2 separate regions of the Homo sapiens genome follow, and region 2 is linked to region 1. The links are contacts of gene promoters, found by promoter capture Hi-C in human tissues and cell types (Jung and others, 2019). All regions are on one chromosome and are shown on one strand. The core of a region is centred on a gene start or on the middle of the fragment in contact, and the rest is flanking DNA. Distances in the headings are between cores, read along the strand shown. Region 1 holds the start of NBEA (neurobeachin). Region 2 has its middle 63 kb from the start of RFC3.

Region 1 (2,763 bases), core at 84-2,583:
TGGTGCAAGTTTAAACAAACAGACATGCAACCAAGAATTCATCCTAAGTACTGGTTTTGAGGAACTTTTTTATAACCTGTGGTACTTAGAATTTTACCGTGTTCCCATATCCTGGGAGTTAACTTGACTGGCAGGTCCAATTAAATATGAATAATAACAAAACTGATTATGGTGGATTTGTATATTGACCTTTTTCATTTGAGAGGACAATTAAAACGATCTGAATATACCTCAAGATACCTAATATTTCTGGTGACTTGCAATAATCTTTATTGAAAAGGGAAGACCTCATGAAATATTAAAGAAAATTATATCATTCCTTTCAAGGAACAGTCATGCCTATTTAGTTTTAATTCAATACTAACAGCAAGATTACTGTGTACATTTTAATTTTTAAAAATTAAAGGTTTATTTTTTGTCTCGTATCTGTGCAGACATAGATATGTACTTTTCTCACAGACAAGGCTGGCAGTGAGAATCACCCATGTTTTTAGATAATTTCGAAAGTCCTCTGAATTGTACGTGCCTGTGAAAAAAGGAAACATTAATAATTGGCATCATACCTGAGGATTGTCAGGATTTTGAAAGTGTGGGATTTGTCGTTCCCACCAAACTACCCCACAGTGTCACACACTGCAGTCTTTTTAGGCTGGGAGGCGAGTTCAAGAGCTGTTTGTTGTTCCGAGCTTGATCCAGAGAGGATCACTGTTTGACAAGTTCTATTTTAAGTCGTGCCTGAGTGTGCAGGTGTCAGCCTCTTTCATGGCTGTAGAAAAAGCACCATTACACTCCGTCTGTATTCTTCCCCCGACAATGCAGGATCGCCCCCCCGCCCCCCCGCGCGTTTGTTTCTGCTTTGCCAGCCACTTTTTCTTTGGGAAATTCTAGGGAGGGCAGGCGGACAGGACTGCGAGGAAGGGCGAGGAGGGGCAGAAAGAGGTCGTCTGCCACTCCCCTACCTTACAAGGCACGTGGCACTGGCAGTAGCAGCAGCTGGATGCAACAACTGAGATGAGGAACCTCCTCCCAGCAAGAGGATATTGAGAGAAGGAGGAGGTGGCAGCGAAGGCAAGACATGCACACTGTGTCCTTCCCCAAAGGGAGAATCCGCCCTCAAGGGAAAAACCACAAGGAAGCCACTACCCGCCCCGCCTCTGCCAGCTTGCCCCAGTGTCTGGCAGCAGTCCCCATGCACCTGCTCACCTGTCTATCCGTTCGGGGTGGTTGGGGGAGGGACGAGGGGTGTCGGGGTGGGTGGGTGGGAAGAGAAGGAGGGCAGGGCAAAAGAGGGGGTGCACCGAGGGCTCCGCCCCCCCGGAGGCTGTGCGCAGGCGCAGTGGCTGCTACCGCAGGCAGGGGGCGGCAACATGGCGGAGTGAGCGGCGGCGTCGGGGCTTCACAACAACAGTGGTGGCCGTAGCAGCGGCGGCAGCAGCGTCAATAGCATCGGCCACAGCCTGAGCTTCAGCACCGGCCAGCGTCGTGGCCAGCTGCTCGCGTCCTCGGGCTTCTCGGAGCGGCTGCAGCATCTCCGCGGGGGGCGGGCCGGGCCGGACAGACCGGGAGAGGGAGAGAGCAGAGGCAGCGGCGGCGGCAGCGGCAGCGGCAGCGGCACACCTGCTGGGCGGGCACAGCCGCTTGCCCGGCAGCGGTTAGCGGTACCGCCACCGCCGAGAATAAGCCTGCGGATCCCCCGCCGCCTCCGCGGGGGAGAGCGCCGGAGCGGGCCGGGCTGAGGCGCAGGCGGGGAGCGGGCCCGGCGCCGCGGCGCTGGTGGATGCTGGGGCTCCGAGGCGACGGCCGGGGGGCGGGGGCCGAGGCAGGTATAACGGTACCGGCGGCGGCAGCGCCGCTGCTCTTCCCTTCTCCTCAGGAGGGGGGCCAATGGCTAGCGAGAAGCCGGGCCCGGGCCCGGGGCTCGAGCCTCAGCCCGTGGGGCTCATTGCCGTCGGGGCCGCTGGCGGAGGCGGCGGGGGCAGCGGTGGTGGCGGCACCGGGGGCAGCGGGATGGGGGAGCTAAGGGGGGCGTCCGGCTCCGGCTCGGTGATGCTCCCCGCGGGGATGATTAACCCTTCGGTGCCGATCCGCAACATCCGGATGAAATTCGCAGTGTTGATTGGACTCATACAGGTCGGAGAGGTCAGCAACAGGGACATCGTGGAGACGGTGCTCAACCTGGTAAGGAAAAGGCGTGCTCTCAATCTGCTTCCCCAGTCCCCACATACACCGTCCCCAGCGCCTTTCCCTCCCACCCTTCACCCCCAGGGTCACACGCGCCGCGCGTCCCTGGGAGCGCAGAGCGTTCAGCCGGTATTGCCCAGCGGGTGACCTGCCTGCGCGCTGCTAGAGCCACGCCACCTCCCTCCTCTCCTCTTTCTGGTCCTCTCCTGCCACCTGAGCGCAGTGCCCAACTTAACACCGCTTCTTCTCACTTTTTAGGACCGCGAGTAACCCAGTACCCGCGGTGAAGGTTTTGGGTCGACTTTAGAGTTTAGTTAGGAGGTGAGGAGGCCTCCTGTTCTCTGGGGTTCTTTTTCTCACACTTAATTGTCCTTGGTGTCGCTCTCCGAGGATGACAGCCTTGCCCCTGGAGCCTAAATTCCCCCGTGCTGCTGAAATGTGAGAAGCGCATTAGCTTCCAACTTGAGCAGCTGGGGTGTGATGTTTTCGAAGGAGACAGAAAATGATGCAGTTTTGCATCTGTCTTTAAATATTCCAAGGCCATGATGGAGAGTGTTGTGTCTGTATCCATCCCCCTCCATC
Region 2 (2,700 bases), core at 8-2,507, 1.2 Mb before region 1:
TTACTCCAAGTATGAAATTCATCAGGAAAAAGACTAAGACTTTTTGTTTTTTGAGATAGAGTCTCACTCTGTCACCCAGGCTGGAGTGCAGTGGCACGATCTCAGCTCACTGCAACCTCAGCCTCCCCGGTTCAAGCAATTCTCCTGCCTCAGCCTCCTGAGTAGCTGGGATTACAGGTGCACGCCACCACGCCTGGCTAATTTTTGTACTTTTAGTGTTTGCGTCATGTTGGCCAAGCTAGTCTTGAACTCCTGACCTCAGGTGATCCACCCTCCTTGGCCTCCCAAAGTGCTGGGATTACAGGCATGAGCCACTGTGCCTGGTCAAGACCAAGACTTGTTGGTTGTAGTGTATGTTGTTATGCTTTTATCTTTCGCGTTATTTCTATGTCATCAGTCTCTTAACAACCGTTCCATGCAATATTGACTGAACACTTGCTAGCACAGGACACTCTAATAATAACCAATATTTATTGAGTACATATTGTATTCAGGCATTGTTATAAGCACTTTGCAAGTCTTAACTGATTGAAGTATCTTCACCACAACCTTTTGAGGTAGATACTATTATTCTCATTTTAAGGATGAAGAAACTGAAACACACAGAGGTTGAATAATTTTGAATAAATTACTCAAAATCATCTAGCTAGTAAATGATAGAGCCAGGATTTGAACCCAGGTAGTCTGAGGCCAGTGTCCATGCTCTTCACCACTCACCATGGATTCTCCCAACAGGAGTGGGTATTTGTGGGAGTGGACAAGGCAGTAGATTGTACCTTGACATCTAAAACTCAAAGGATGAGGATATCACAGGAAAGATGAAACTATGTTCAATGTACATACAAAGGAGAGAGGGATGAAGGACTGATGGTTATGGGATGATGAATTATTGTAATATTATAGGAAATTGGTCTTTTTAGATTCTCCAGATAAACTCTTGAGTATTAAATTTGTACTTTCATGATATTTACATGTAGGCACAGTGAATATTATCACTATGCCAGTTAAACAGATTATCTACTCTGTGTGAAGAAACACTTTGAAGGTATTCTTCACAACTGCATGAACTTGTTAATAATAATTCATCTTCCTTCACTGTTAATTGGATTTTTTCTCCAATTGACCCAATCCTTCTGTTAATAAAATGACTGTATCTACATTTTGATTTATGACTAAAAGTTGTGCAAGGGCAGTAAGCGCCCCCTGAATCTACTAAATCTTCCCTAGCAAAAGCAATACTAAGTAACTTATGTGCATACCTGTCAGAATTAATTGGATTGCTAGTGAAAGATTATGAAATGTCATTCATTGCCTTTTGAAATACTCATAATGTCAAGTTTACATTCTGCTGAGTCTTGTCTCCTCCTTGAATGATCTTTTCCAGAGTTAACTCTCGTTTTTTCTGAACTCCTTGTAGCTCTTTCAGCAAGTGCTTCTAGCATTAATTATAGCTTGCATTGTATATTCTTTGGCTTTACGTTTAGGAGTATTATGTTTTTCTAAGCAATTTGTCATCATCACCAACATCATCATCTCAAGAAGTAAAATATCTGCTGTTTCTTAGTATGGTCAGTTTCTGCTAGCATTGGGCACACAGGAGTGTGAATGAATAAATGCCGTGGACCTGGTTTGTCAGTGCTGGTTAACGATCTGCTGATGTTCTTAGGTGTAATTCAATCTGGTGGTCAGACCACTGGGCTGGGAAATGGGAGGCCTGGATTTTATTTCCCATTATCTGTGACTTTGGATGGGTCATTTAAGCTCTCGTTTTCTTCCCAAATAACTTAGAGGAAGAGTCTTCATCTACACCAGTACTTCTCAGCCTTCACTGCACATTGGAATCATAATGACATGGCCTCCCACTTCCAGAGATTTTTGACTTCATGCATCTGGGCTTGAGGGTTTTAAACAGCTCCTCAGGTGATTTTGAGATGCTGAAGTGCAGAAGAACTTGTCTAGGGGATCTAAGAAGTGTTAATGAGATGCTAATAGCCTGGTGTAATACTCATCACCACCCCATCACTACTCACCTCCAAGTTCTGTGGATTTGCTTCATGACTCTTTCTTACGTCTACCTCTTTCTCTGAATTTCTTGTGGCACTGTCTGGCATTATTTAAAAGTTCCTGCCTTATCATTTGCAAAATAAGTGTCAGGACAATTCTCATTCTCTGATCATCCTCCTGCCACATTGGTGGGCTTCTAAAAACACAAATATAATTGTGTTGACTTTAGGCTTAGAACTCTTGGCTGTGGAATTGAGTGCTAGCTCCTCAGAATGTCATGCTGGGTGGGCCCTACGTAATCTGCAACCTGCCTGCCTCCCTAACCACATGTTTCAACACATTCCCCTGGCACATCTATTTCCATCCATGATGTTCCATGTCTCTGTGCTTGTTCTTGTGATGCTGTGCTATCTTCCTAGGATAATTATCTTCTCCTTCCCCATGATTTGCTCATTAATCACCAACTATTCATCACTGAAGCTTCAGCTAAGATGTCATTTCTGTCAGGAAAACTTCCAGAACTTGTCTTAGTAGGCTTGATCTTCCCTCCTTTATGATAACTGGATATTTTACATATGTGTATGTATATATATATAAAATATGTATGTATATATAATATATGTGCATATATATATATAACTACCCTTCTCATGCTATATTACAATTACTTACTTGCACACCTAATATTTGAGAATA

The links. Contacts are between HindIII fragments. The study calls those that stand out against the background at their distance.
Region 2: a fragment that was not itself captured here is called in contact with the fragment with the promoter of NBEA in region 1 in 1 of the 25 tissues and cell types used here (dorsolateral prefrontal cortex).

The regions. Positions count from the first base shown.
Region 1 is chr13:34,940,937-34,943,699 of GRCh38, forward strand. It overlaps NBEA (neurobeachin), which reads left to right and starts at 1,334. Exons shown (of 59, transcript NM_001385012.1): 1 at 1,334-2,178. The coding sequence starts at 1,885. LOC124903231 (a long non-coding RNA gene) reads right to left here and starts at 1,254. Exons shown (of 2, transcript XR_007063908.1): 1 at 1,204-1,254; 2 at 385-766. RefSeq lists an enhancer at 916-1,025 and silencers at 1,196-1,265, 1,706-1,825. The HindIII fragment of the contact is 6,257 bases long and covers 1-2,763 here.
Region 2 is chr13:33,753,632-33,756,331 of GRCh38, forward strand. No RefSeq gene overlaps it. Among named protein-coding and RNA genes, the nearest start is that of RFC3, 63 kb to the right of the region's middle. The HindIII fragment of the contact is 6,252 bases long and covers 1-2,700 here.